Regions from separate parts of the Homo sapiens genome. Here region 1 is linked to region 2. The links are contacts of gene promoters, found by promoter capture Hi-C in human tissues and cell types (Jung and others, 2019). All regions are on one chromosome and are shown on one strand. The core of a region is centred on a gene start or on the middle of the fragment in contact, and the rest is flanking DNA. Distances in the headings are between cores, read along the strand shown.

The links. Contacts are between HindIII fragments. The study calls those that stand out against the background at their distance.
Region 1: a contact is called between the fragment with the promoter of SNRNP70 here and the fragment with the promoter of CA11 in region 2, in 1 of the 25 tissues and cell types used here (lymphoblastoid cells).

What each region holds. Positions count from the first base shown.
Region 1 is chr19:49,081,308-49,088,008 of GRCh38, forward strand. It overlaps SNRNP70 (small nuclear ribonucleoprotein U1 subunit 70), which reads left to right and starts at 4,144. Exons shown (of 10, transcript NM_003089.6): 1 at 4,144-4,329; 2 at 5,098-5,254. The coding sequence starts at 5,108. It also overlaps the pseudogene RN7SL708P. RefSeq lists enhancers at 3,820-3,889, 4,240-4,329. The HindIII fragment of the contact is 18,802 bases long and covers 1-6,701 here.
Region 2 is chr19:48,643,828-48,650,442 of GRCh38, forward strand. CA11 (carbonic anhydrase 11) reads right to left here and starts at 2,360. Exons shown (of 9, transcript NM_001217.5): 1 at 1,739-2,360; 2 at 1,576-1,650; 3 at 600-742. The coding sequence starts at 1,805. It also overlaps the pseudogene SEC1P. RefSeq lists enhancers at 288-989, 990-1,690, 1,691-2,391 and silencers at 2,349-2,538, 2,569-2,978. The HindIII fragment of the contact is 19,792 bases long and covers 1-6,615 here.

The sequences.
Region 1 (6,701 bases), core at 2,894-5,393, 440 kb after region 2:
TAAATAAATAAATAAAGAGAGGCAGCCAGGCTCTGTGGCACATGCCTGTAGTCCCAGCTACTTGGAGGCTGAGGCAGAAGGATTGTTTGAGCCCAGGAAGTTCTGGGCTGTAGTGTGTTATGCTGATTAGGTGTCCATACTAAGTTTGGCTTCAATATGGTAACCTCCCATGCGTGGGAGACTACCAGGTTGCCTAGCAGGGGTTGAACTGACCTAGGCTGGAAATGGATCAGGTCAAAACTCCCATGTTGATCAGGAGTGGGATCATGCCTATGAATAGCCACTGCACATGAGCCTGAGTGACACAGTGAGACCCTGTCTCTGAAAAATCAATCAATAAATAGGAAGCACAGCATAAAAGTTTAGAAAAGTCACAACCTGGCAATGTGGTAGAGAAGGGAAGAGCATTTTTTAGGAGAGAAATAGAAGCAGGCTGTATTGCCTTGCTGGAGAGGTTGCGTGACTAAAAGGAAGCCAAGTGCTAACATCCAAGACAATGGGAAAAAGGCCTTGAAGGCATTTCAGGAGTCTTCAAAACAGCCTCCCCCATCACAGGCTCTGAGGCATATAAGGAAAGAGTGGTTTACTGGGCCAGATCCAGGGCCCTGTCTCCTGCTCAGCCTGGGGACACTGCTCCCCTGCATCCCTGCTGTTCGATCACCAGCCATGACACACAGGGTCCCAAGTACAGCTTGGGCCACCACTCCAGAGGGTGCAAGCCATAAACTTTGGCAGCTTTCATGTGGGATTAAGCCTGCAGGTGCACAGAATGCAAGAGTGAAGGAAGCTTAGCAGCTCCCACCTGGATTTCAGAGGATGTGTAGGAAAGCCTGGGTGTCCAGGCAGAAGTCGGCTGCATGGTTGGAGTCCCTACAGAGAGCCTCTACTAGGACAGTGCCAAGGGGGAAAGGTGGGGTTGGAGGCCTAACATAGAGTCCCCACCAGGGCGCTGCCTAGTGGAGCTGTGAGAAGGGGACCCCTCCTCTCTAGATCCCAGAGTGACAGGTCTGCCAGCAGATTGCACCCTGAGCCTACAACAGCTGCAGGCACTAAACTCCAACCTGTGTGAGGAGACATTGGGGCTGGACTTTGCTGCCCAAGACTTTGGGAGCCCACTCCTTGCACCAGTGTGCCTTGGATGCAGAACATGGAATCAGGGATTATTTTGGAGCTTTAAAGTTTTTTTTTGTTTTTGTTTTTGTTTTGAGACAGAGTCTTTCTCTGTTGCTCAGGCTGGAGTGTAGTGGTGCAATCTTGGCTCACGACAACCTTCGCCTCCCGAGTTCAAGCAATTCTTCTGTCTCAGCCTCCTGAGTAGCTGGGATTACAGGCACCTGCCACCACACCTGGCTAATTTTTGTATTTTTAGTAGAGATGAGGTTTCACCATCTTGGCCAGGCTGGTCTTGAACTCCTGACCTCGTGATCCATCCACCTCGGCCTCCCAAAGTGCTGAGATGACAGGTGTGAGCCACTGTGCCAGGCTAGAGCTTTAAAGTTTAATGTCTTCTCTGCTGTGTTTCAGACTTCTGTTAAGCCTATTGTCCCTTTCCTTTGGCAGATTTCTCCCTTTTATTTTATTATTATTATTATTTTATTTTTATTGTTGTTGTTTTGAGACAAAGTCTCGCTCTGTTGCCACGCTGGAGTATAGTGGCACGATCCTGGCTCACCGCAACCTCTGCTTCCTGGGTTCAAGCAATTCTCCTGCCTCAGCCTCCCAAGTAGCTGGGACAACAGGCACGTGCCACCATACCCAGCTAATTTTTGTATTTTTAGTAGAGACAGGGTTTCACCATGTTGGCCAGGATGGTCTCGATCTCTTGACCTCATGATCTGCCTGCCTCAGCCTCCCAAAGTGCCAGGATTACAGGTGTGAGCCACCGTGCCCAGCCATCATTATTATTTTTTGAGATAGAGTCTTGCTCTGTCCAGGCTGGAGTGCAGTTGCACAGTCTCAGCTCACTGCAACCTCCACCTCCCAGATTCAAGCGATTCTCCTGCCTTAGCCTTCAAAGTAGCTGGGATTACAGGTGCATGCCACCATGTCCAGCTAATTTTTGTATTTTTAGTAGAGAAGGGGTTTCGCCATGTTGCCCAGGCTGGTCTTGAACTCCTGATCTCAGGGATCCTCCTACCTTGGCCTCCCAAAGTGCTGGGATTACAGGTGTGAGCCACCACACCCGGCCTATTTTATTTGTTTTTTTGAGACAGATTCTCACTCTGTTGCCCAGGCTGGAGTGCAGTCGTGCAATCTCTGCCTCCCGGGTTCAAGCAATTCTCCTGCCTCAGCTTCCCAGGTAGCTGGAATTACAGGTGCGTGCCACCACTCCCAGCTAATTTTTGTATTTTTAGTAGAGATGGGATTTCACCATGTTGGCCAGGCTGGTCTCGAACTCCTGACCTCAGGTGATCCGCCCACCTCGGCCTCCCAAAGTGCTGGGATTACAGGTGTGAGCCACCACACCCAGCCCTTTTCTTTCTTTTTTTTTTTTTTTTTTTGAGACGGAGTCTCGCTCTGTCGCCCAGGCTGGAGTCTAGTGGCACAATCTTGGCTCACTGCAGCCTCAACTTTCTCGGCTCAAACGATCCTCCCACTTCTTTTTTTTATTTGAGACGGAGTTTTGCTCTTGTCTCCCAGGCTGGAGTGCAATGGTGCCATCTTGGCTCACCACAACCTCTGCCTCCCAGGTTCAAGTGATTCTCCTGCCTCAGCCTCTCAAGTAGCTGGGATTATAGGCATGTGCCACCATGCCCAGCTAATTTTGTATTTTTAGTAGAGACGGGGTTTCTCCATGTTGATCAGTCTGGTCTCGAACTATTGACCTCAGGTGATCTGCCCGCCTTGGCCTCCCAAAGTGCTGGGATTACAGGCGTGAGCACTGCACTCGGCCTTTTTCTTGAAACATAAAATTAGTCATTTTAATTTGCAATAATTTCTGTAGTTATTAAACAGGCTATTGAATCCATCCACAAAACTTAAGATACAATACTTAAGAACAGGGCTCTAAATAACAAGTGCCAGCTCTCTGATCTCATGGCCAACAACCTGAGATTCCTGCCATCTGGTCTCAGTTCAGGACCTTTGCACTTACTGTTAAACACCGCCCCCCCGGCCCCACCCCAGATCTCGCTTCTATCTGTCCTTTATTCAAATGTTACCTCTTCAGAGGGGCCTTCCATTATCACCCTTTCTAAAACAGCCTCGCTCTCACTTCCCATCCCTTTATTCTGCTCCATCGTTCTTCATTATGCTGGCCACTATCTCAAATTATCTTTTATTATTTATTTATTTATTTACTTTTGAGACGGAGTCGCTCTGTCGCCCAGGCTGGAGTGCAATGGCACGACCTCGGCTCACTGCAACCTCCGCCTCCCGAGTTCAAGCGATTCTCCCGCCTCAGCCTCCAGAGTAACCGGGCTTACAGGCGCGCACGGCCACGCCCGGCTAATTTTTGTATTTTTAGTAGAGACGGGCTTTCACCATGTTGGTCAGGTTGGTCTCACACTCCTGACCTCAGGTGATCTGCCCGCCTCAGCCTCCCAAAAGTTCTGGGATTACAGGCGTGATCCACCGCGCCTGGCCTCAAATTATCTTTATTCAGTTAAATGCTTTTATTGTCTCTCCCAGTACAATGTAAGCCCTAGCAGCAGAAGACTTTGCTTTAATCACGTGCTGTACCCCCAAAGCCCAGACAGTGCCTAGCACACACGAGATGCTCGATGAATAGTTATTGATTGAATAGATTAGACATCAACGCAATCAGGCTGTTCACCTAGGGACTCTTTGCTAGGCGGCGGAGAGGTACGTTACAGTTCTCTACGCAAAACGCATGCGCGAAAGATCCGGGAAGTGTGATCGGAAAGGGGCGGAGCATCAGGGAGAGTCTCGCGGACATAGGCGGTTCGGCGCGGAAAGCGGGAGGTGGAGGGGCGGCTTGGGGCAAGCGCGCGCGCGCAGTGCAGAAGCCAGCCCCCCGCGGCTGAGGTACTCAAGGTGCCCAAAGGCGGGGTAGTGACCTCGCGCGTGCGCTGTGCCCGCGGCAGCGCCGGGTCCTAGTGTGTGGGTTGTTGTTGGCACCGCACGGCGCGTGCGCAGTGAGGACGGCGGAGGGATTTGCGGCCGGGACCCACCCCCTGCTCCAGTCGCTATCGGAGGCCGCGCGGGTGGCTGAGCAGCGGCCTGGTGCGCTCGCTTAGCGGGCGACGGAATCAGACGGACGTGGACGCCCCCGGAGTGGAAGCCGAAGCAGGAGTTGTTGTTGCTGAGGGGCTGCCGCAGCCGCCGCGAGCCTCCGGACAGACGCCAGAGCGAGGAGGGCGCTACGCGGTGAGTGAGTGTGACTGAGTGGCCCGACGGGGTGCGGGGCCGCTACCCAGAAGCCCCAGCGGTGGGCCCGGTCCTCTTCCCCGCGGCCAGGCCCCTTTCCCGCGTCCCCGCCACAGGTCCCTTCTGCATCCCTTTCCCGGACCCCGAAATCTCTGGGCACCCACGCCCGCTTCCCACAGCGCCCTCGTGGTTCCCTACCCACAGGCCCTTGCGGTGTGTGGCCTTTTTTCTTTTTCGTTTGTCTATGTTGTCCTGGACCCTTACCCATAATTCCTTTCGCTTTTTGCGGGGTCCAGGTCTGTTACCCACAAGCACTTGGTTTTGGGGCTTCGCTCCTTATGTTTCTCTTTCTTTGCTTGGAAACTTCCGATCCCCAGGACCCTGCAAACTGCATCTCGTAATTTGCCCTCCACGGCACGGGACGAGCAGCCACAGCTGCTCTGGGCCTCCCTCCTCGGGTCCTTGATTTCCCCAGAAATTCCCAGGGAACCTCTCCGCCCCACAGCTCGTGTCAGAGGACTCTGAGACTTCACTCTTCAGGAACCCTTTTCCAGCCGTTATTTTTGTTTTCTTTACCGGCCTTTCACCTCCACCCCCACCAAGACGTACCCTTTTCTCCGCAACACAGGACTGTTCTCTGCCCTTACAGAGCCTGTTTTAATTCCGAGACTTTTCTCCTGTCTTTCTTATTTTGAGAGTCAAGGAGTAACAGGGGCTTTCTCTGTGCAGACCCGATCTAACCTAAGGCTGTCCTGCTTCTGCTCTCAGACTTGGCAAGATGACCCAGTTCCTGCCGCCCAACCTTCTGGCCCTCTTTGCCCCCCGTGACCCTATTCCATACCTGCCACCCCTGGAGAAACTGCCACATGAAAAACACCACAATCAACCTTATTGTGGCATTGCGCCGTACATTCGAGAGTTTGAGGTGAGTTCACTGAGCAGGCCAGGAATGGTTTGGGTTCTGGGGAGCAACGGGTTGGATTTGCGAGTCCAGCTTCTGGCCATTTTGCCAGCTGCGTGATTTAAGCGAGGGGCTTAACCTTTGTGATCCTCAGTTTCTCTGTTTTAAATGGGGTTGGAGCCGGGTGTCGGGTGTGGTCGAGTGCGTCTGTAGTCTCAGCTACTCAGGAGGCTGAGGTGGGAGGATTGCTTGAGCCCAGGAGTCGGAGGCTGGAGTGCTTTGTGATTGTGCCACTATACTCCGGCCTGGGTGACAGAGCAGGACTTCGTCTCTCAAAAAAAAAATTTTTTTTTTAAGTGGGGTTGTGGCCCGGTACGGTGGCTCACGCCTGTAATCCCAGTACTTTGGGAGACCGAGGCAGGCGGATCACTTGAGGTGAGGAGTTGAAGACCAGCCTGGCCAACATGGTGAAACCACGTCTCTGCTAAAAATAACAAAAATTAGCCGGACATGGTGCCTGTAATTCCAGCTACTTGGGAGGCTGAGGCACGGGAATCACTTGAACCCAGGAGGCGGAGGTTGCAATGAGCCGAGATCGCGCCACTGCACTCCATCCTGAGCAACAGAACAAGACTGTCTCAAAAAAAAAAAAAAAAAAAAAGTGGGGTTGATAGTACACCTTTTGTAGAATTTTTGTGAAAATTCAGTGAGTAGTGGTTGAGGATTCATGCCTAACCCACACCATTTATCAGCTCTGACTTTGGGCAAATGTTGTATCCTCTTAATGCATTGGTTTCTTTATCTTTAGCAAGGGGATAGTGGTAGCACCCTTATAATGTTGGTGGAGAATTAAATGGCAAACTGTATGTCAGGGGGCTTGGCACCAAGCAGTCAGCACATGTCAGCCTTTGTTACTCTGTTTACTACTTTTATTGTTAATAAGATGATGTTCATAAAGGCTTAGCACCCAGTATTGAGTATTGGAGGGCTTAAAACTGCAGATGGGGATCTTAGCTCTGCACCTTTGGGATAAATAGGAATGAATGACTTAGGCTCCTGGACCTCTGTGTTTTTATTTGTGAAATGGGATGACAAGGGTCATCTCTTAGGTGCATCAGAGCACACCTGAGAAAAGCTGGCACACAGTCGGAAGTTACAAGAAGAACGTTCTAGCATTGGGTAGGTAAGGGCAGCTGGAGGCGAGGGAGTTGCAGAGCAGAATTTCGTAGATAACAGAAAGGTATGTCTTCAGTGGGATTTGCCACCCTTGGTGAACCCGCACTTGAGAGATATTACTGGCCAATTAACTTAATGGGCACAGGCGGGTGGTAGGTGCCCTTTGATGATGCAGGTCATGTGCCAGTTACCATTTATTTATTTATGAGACAGTTTTGCTCTGTTGCCCAGGCTGGAGTGCAGTGGCGTGATTTTAGCCAACTGCAGCCTCCGGTTCAAGCAGTTCTCCTGCCTC
Region 2 (6,615 bases), core at 1,110-3,609:
TCATGCCTGTAATCCTAGCACTTTGGGAGGCCGAGGCAGGTGGATCACCTGAGGTCAGGAGTTCAAGACCAGCCTGACCAAAATGGAGAAAACCCATCTCTGCTAAAAATACAAAAAATTAGCTGGGCGTGATGGTGCGCATGCCTGTAATCCCAACTACTCGGGAGGCTGGGGCAGGAGAATCGCTTGAACCTGGGAGGTGGAGGTTGCAGTGAGCTGAGATCACATCATTGCACTCCAGCCTGGGCAACAAGAGCAAAACTCCATCTCAAAATAATAATAATAATAATAACAATAATAATAATTGTACCCATTTTGTGGGGTGGTTATGAGATGAGAGGCTTATCAAGGTTTTAAATCTGCCTGGCACAGGAAATGTTCTGCTTTTCATTGCTTCTGCAGAGATGGGGAGACTAGGGGACCATGCTTGGGATGGGAAGAATGGGTGATCCATTTTACAGTGTAAGCAGCCTCCTCTCCACCCACTGGGTGTCCCCTCCTCCCCCAAGGCTGCTCTCCTACCTCAGCACCCCATTCCCCAGCCTCTATTCATGCCCATCCCCAGTGGGTTCAATAGCTCCTCCCTCCAAGCCCCTTACCTTCTCTCCTCCAGTGCTGAGCCTTAATGGGGGCAGAAAGGGGTCATAAAGAACCCTCTTCAGCTCCACATCCACGGGGCTCTGCCGCTTCCCCACAGCACACAGACTCCACGCTGCATTCACCAGGCCCCAGAAAGGAGGCCCTGGGGGTGGGGTCGGAGTAGGAGGACAAGGAGTCAGAAATAGAGACTGGATCCCAGGGCTGGTATCTGCTGAGTGGGCTGTGGTCTGGACTCCCAGATCCCAGGGGAGGAGGGGCTAGGGACCTAGACTCCTGGGTCTGAGGGAGGACTGGGCTCAGATCCAGAATTCTGGGTCCTAGAAGAATCTTGGAATAGTTTCCAAGTTTAGCAGAGACGGGTTTCACCAAGTTGGCCAGGCTGGTCTTGAACTCCTGACCACAGGTAATCCACCCACCTCGGCCTCCTAAAGTGCTGGGATTTCAAGCGTGAGCCACCGCGCCCAGCCGATCAAACCCATCTTAAGCCACTGTAGATGGAACTACAACTCCCAGCAGGCCCCAGTGCTACCAGCCTACCCCTCTGCTGCCTACCTGCCCCAGAGCCCCGTGGGAGTTGTAGTTCTTTTTTTTAATCGCTCTTATCCCACAGCTGGATTATTATTAATGTGTTGGGGAGAGGAGCTGCAAGAGAAGGCTGGACAAGGTGGGGGACGGGGCCACCCAGCCTCTGGTTCCTAGCAGGAGCCAGGACCTTCCTCTCCCGGCAAACACACACATAATCTCCACCCCCACACTTTCCTTCCACTCACTCCCACTCACTACTTGAAATGCGCATGTATAATGTCCCATGGTGAGCCCCTGGGGTTCAGAAGCTGGCCCGACTCCTGAGGGACAGAGGAGGGGGCTGGGACTCCTGGTCCTGGGGGGGAGGAGGGAGCTGGGAACCCAGGTTCCTGAGTCTGAAGAAGGAGGCGCCGGGAGGGCCGGACTCCTGGGTCCCCGCCTTGGCGGCACCTGGCACGAAGTTTCCCTGGAGATTATCCTTGTAGCTCCACCAGTCCTCGGGGTCAGGTGCTGGTCCGATGTGAGCTGGGAAGAGAGCAGCCTGAATCCCTCTCCTTGGCATCCCCACCTCCACCCTCCCTCGGGGGCTCCTCCCGGGAACCCCAGGTCTTACCTGCTGCCCCCAGTGCAGCCCAGAGTACCAGCGCTCGAGGGGCGCTCAGACGAGCTGCAGCCCCCATCCCCAGGAGGCCTCCGAGGGACCCCTGCCCAACGCCCTGCCCCCCTCTCTCAGCTCCTCTGTCCCCTCCTTCTGGGACCCTGTCCCTCCAGGACTTCCAGCTTTCCTCTCCTCCCCACAGGGAGTCCCAGTTCCCCAAATGCCAAAGCAGCCAGGGACTGAGATCCGCCCTTCAAACCCACTCTTCTTCTCTCTCCCGTCTCTCTGTGTCTTTCCTCTTTCCTCTGCTCTTTTCCCGGAACCCTCCAGTCTCCCTCTAGCTCCTGATCTTCCTACTCCTCTCAGCCTTCTGCTGCCCCCAGGGCTACCTCTTGGTTCCTAACCCACACCTCCTCTCCGTTCTCTTTTCATTAAGCTCTCCCAAGCCACCTAACTCCAGGTCTCCATCCCGCATCTCCTCCTCCTCCTCCCTCTCTCCTTTCCAGCTCCTGCCTCTTCTCCCCTCTCTCCTTCTTCACCTCCTCCCGCCCTCCCTCAGTGTCGGCCTCCAGCTTCGTGCTCTCCCCACCTCCTCCTCTCCTGCCTCTTCTCCCTGTTTCAGTCTCTCTTCTCTCTTGTCCCTTCCTCCCTCCTCCCCCTCCCTCTCTCCTCTCCCGTGGTGTTATTTAATTTTGTTGTTGGGCTGGGGGAGCAGGTGATCTCATAGCGGCAAACACTCCTCGGGTTGGCTTGGGGTGGGATGTGCGAAAGGGCAGGATTCGGAAGGAGGTAGGGGGCTGGTCCTCGGCTCCCAGCCGCGCTGGGGCCACGCGGGCGGGGGTGGCCGGGACACCTGGGGCCGGGAGCAGGCTGTTTCCATCCTCCGCAGCAAGGGGAAGGGGGGGCGCTTAAGGTGGAGCTGGGAGTGGCTTCGGAAGTCTCCATGCTGGGGGCCGCCGGCCTTGGCGGATGCAGGGTCCCCCTGCTCGCTGGGACCCAGGTTGGAGCCGCCCCAGCGCCCGCAGCCCCCCTTCCCCGCCCCAGGGCTCCACTGGGTCTCTGCCTGGGGCTGCCTTAACGGGGCCGGGGGATCCCCTAGGAGCCTGAAGTGCAGTGAGGGCTGCTCGCCTGGAGGGGGAGGCAGAGACCTGGCGAGGGAGAGAGGGGCGGGGAGGAGGAGCCGGGAGGGCAGAGGCGGAGAGCGGGAGGTGAGGACCCACATCTGCGTAGGCTGGGGAGGGGAAGGGAGCCTGAGATGGATACGGAGAGGAAGGGCGGAGGGACAGAAGGTTAGAGAGGCAAGAACAAACCGCCAGGCAGGAGTGAGGAGGAGGGGGAGGAGGTGAAGGAGGAGGGGGAGGAGGGAGAGGAGGGGGAGGGAGAGGAGGGGGAGGAGGGAGAGGAGGAGGGGGAGGGAGAGAGGAAGGAATGAATGAGAGAGATACAGATAGAGGCAGAAAAGGAGATACAGAGACGCAGCGAGACAGACATGGAGACATAGAGACACACACTTAGAGATAGACAGAAACTCAGAGACCAAGCAGCAGATGGGGTGGGGAGAGACAAAAAGAGAGAAAGAGCGATCCAAAGACAGAGAGAGACACCACATTTTTGTATTTGGGGAGAAGAGATGGGGTCATGCTATGTTGCTCAGGCTAGTCTCAAACTCCTGTCCTCAAGGGATCCTCCCACCTTGGCCTCCCAAAGCATTGAGATTACAGGCATGAACAACCATACCCAGCCTCAGAGAGACCACATATTACTGTTGTTGTTGTTATTTATTATTTTTCACCCCGTCTAATGGTAGTGAAACTGCTCATTGTCTTCTTTTATTTTCTTTTTTGAGACAAGCCTTGCAATGTCACCCAGGCTGGAGAGCAGTGGTGCGATCATGGCTTGATCCAGCCTCGACCTCCTGGGCTTAAACACTCCTTCCACCTCAGCCTCCCAAATAGTTGGGACTACAGGCACATGCCACCATGCCAGGCTAATTTTTAAAAATTATTTTTTGTAGAGATGTAGTCTTGCTATGATGCCCAGGCTGGTCCGGAACCCCTGGGCTCAAGGGATCCTCCTGCCTTGGCCTCCCAAAGTGCTGGGATTACAGGTGTGAGCCACCTTGTCCAGCCTGACACCAAACATTAACGAGACAGAGAGACATAGAAAGAGACACACATACATCAGTACAGGTGGAGAGAGACACAGAGAGGGAGAGACATAGAAACACACACACAGACTGAGCATGGTGGCTCACACCTGTAATCCCAGAACTCTGGGAGGTCAAGGTGGATGGATCACTTGAGGCCAGGAGACTGAGACCAGCCCGGCCAACATGGCCAAATGCCATCTCTACTAAATACATAAAAACTTAGCCAGGCATGGTGGCTCACGCCTGTAATCCCAGCACTTAGGGTGGTCGAGGTGGGTGGATCACCTGAGGTCAGGAGTTCAAGACCAGCCTGACCAAAATGGTGCAACCCCGTTTCTACTAAAAAATACAAAAACTAGCTGAGCGTGGTGGCACACACCTATAATCCCGGCTACTCAGGAGGCTGAGACAGGAGAATCGCTTGAACCGGGTAGGTGGAGGCTACAGTGAGCCGAGATCCCAACAGTGCACTCCAGCCTGGGCAACAGAGTGAGACTCCATCTCAAAAAAAAAAAAAAAAAGAAAGAAAGAAAGAAACACACACACAGAGCTAGAGACAGAGACCTGGGAACAGGCACACACACATCTATAAATAGAGACACTCGTGCAGAGAAAGAGACATCAACAGAGAGGAACAGATGGACAGAGATAGAGAGACCCAGATAGAGGGAGAGAGGACCAGAAGCAGACCAACTGACATGATGGGAGAGACTACAAAGGAATCAGAAAGACAGAGGTATTCAGAGATAGCAAATTGGGATGGACATTCAAAGACCTAGAGATGGAGAGAGACACCCAGAAAGAAACCCAGAGAGTCAGGGGTGGAGAGAGACACGAAGAAAAAACACAAGAAGGAAAGGTACATACTAATAATTTATTGCTGGCGGGGCTTGGTGGTTCATGCCTGTAATCCCAGCACTTTGGGAGGCTGAGGAGGGAGGATCACTTGAGATCAAGAGTTTGAGACCAGCCTGGGCAACATAGTAAGACCTCGTCTCTATTTTTTATGAAAAAGAAAAAAACAGGCCGGGCACAGTGGCTCACACCTGTAATCCTAGCACTTTGGGAAGCTGAAGCGGGCGGATCACGAGGTCAGGAGATTGAGACCACGGTGAAACCCCATCTCTACTAAAAATACAAAAAATTAGCCGGGCGCGGTGGCGGGCGCCTGTAGTCCCAGCTCCTCGGGAGGCTGAGGCAGGAGAATGGCGTGAACCCGGGAGGTGGAGCTTGCAGTGAGCTGAGATCACGCCACTGCACTCCAGCCTGGGCGACAGAGCGAGACTCCGTCTCAAAAAAAAAAAAAAAAAAGAAAAAAGAAAAAGAAAAAAATAGTTGGGGAACGGCAGCTCACGCCTGTAATTCCAGCACTTTGGGAGGCCGAGGAAGGCAGATCACTTGAGGTCAGGAGTTTGAGACCAGCCTGACCAACGTGGTGAAACCCCGTCTTTACCAAAAATACAAAAATTAGGCTGGGCGCAGTGGCTCACGCCTGTAATCCCAGCACTTTGGGAGGCCAAGGCGGGCGGATCACAAGGTCAGGATTTCGAGACTGGCCTCACCAGCATGGTGAAACCGTGTCTCTGCTAAAAATACAAAAATTAGCTGGGCATGGTGGCACACGCCGAGATTGCGCCACTGCACTCCAGCCTGGGCGACAGAGTGAGACTCTGTCTCAAAAAAAAAAAAAAAACAAAAACAAAAATTAGCCGGGTGTGGTGACGCATGCCTCTAGTCCCAGCTGCTCGGGAGGATGAGGCATGAGAATCACTTGAACTCAGGAAGTGGAGGTTGCAGTGAGCCGAGATCACACCAGTGCCCTCCAGCCTGGGCAAAGAGTGAGACTGTCTCAAAAACAACGACAAAACAAAACAAAACAACGACAAAAAAATCTGTTGTTGTGTGACAAATTACCCTAAAACTCAGTGGCTTAAAACAACAAACATTTATTGTGTTCACAGTTCCTGAGGGCCAGGAATGTGGGAATGGCTTCATTGGGTGGTTCTGGATCCTTCTTGAGGGTGCAGTGAAACTGTTGGACAGGGCTGCAGTCATCTCAAGTCTTTTATGACCTAGTCTCCCAAAGTCACACACCTTTTATTCCACGCATCAGAAATGAGTCACTAGATCTAGCCTACACTCAAAAGGAAAGACGTTAGGATCCTCTGCTCTTGGGCCGGGAGCGGTGGCTCACGCCTGTAATCCCAGCACTTTGGGAGGCCGAGGAAGGCAGATCACTTGAGATCAGGAGTTCAAGAGCAGCCTGGCCAACATGGTGAAACCTCGTCTCTATTAAAAATACAAAAATTGGCCGGGCGTGTTGGCTCACGCTTGTAATCCCAGCACTTTGGGAGGCTGAGGCGGGCGGATCATGAGGTCAGCAGATCGAGACCACGGTGAAACCCCGTCTCTACTAAAAATACAAAAAATTAGCCGGGCGTGGTGGTGGGCGCCTGTAGTCCTAGCTACTCTGGAGGCTGAGGCAAGAGAATGGCGTGAACCCAGGAGGCGGAGCTTGCAGTGAGCTGAGATCGCGCCACTGCACTCCAGCCTGGGTGACAGAGCAAGACTGTCTCAAAAAAAAAAAAAATACAAAAATTAGCCGAGCATGGTGGCGTGTGCCTGTAATCCCAGCTACTCAGGAGGTTGAGGCAGGAGAATCGCTTGAAGCTGGGAGGCAGAGGTTGCAGTGAGCCAATATCGAGCCATTGCATTCCAGCCTGGGCGACAGAATGAGACCCTG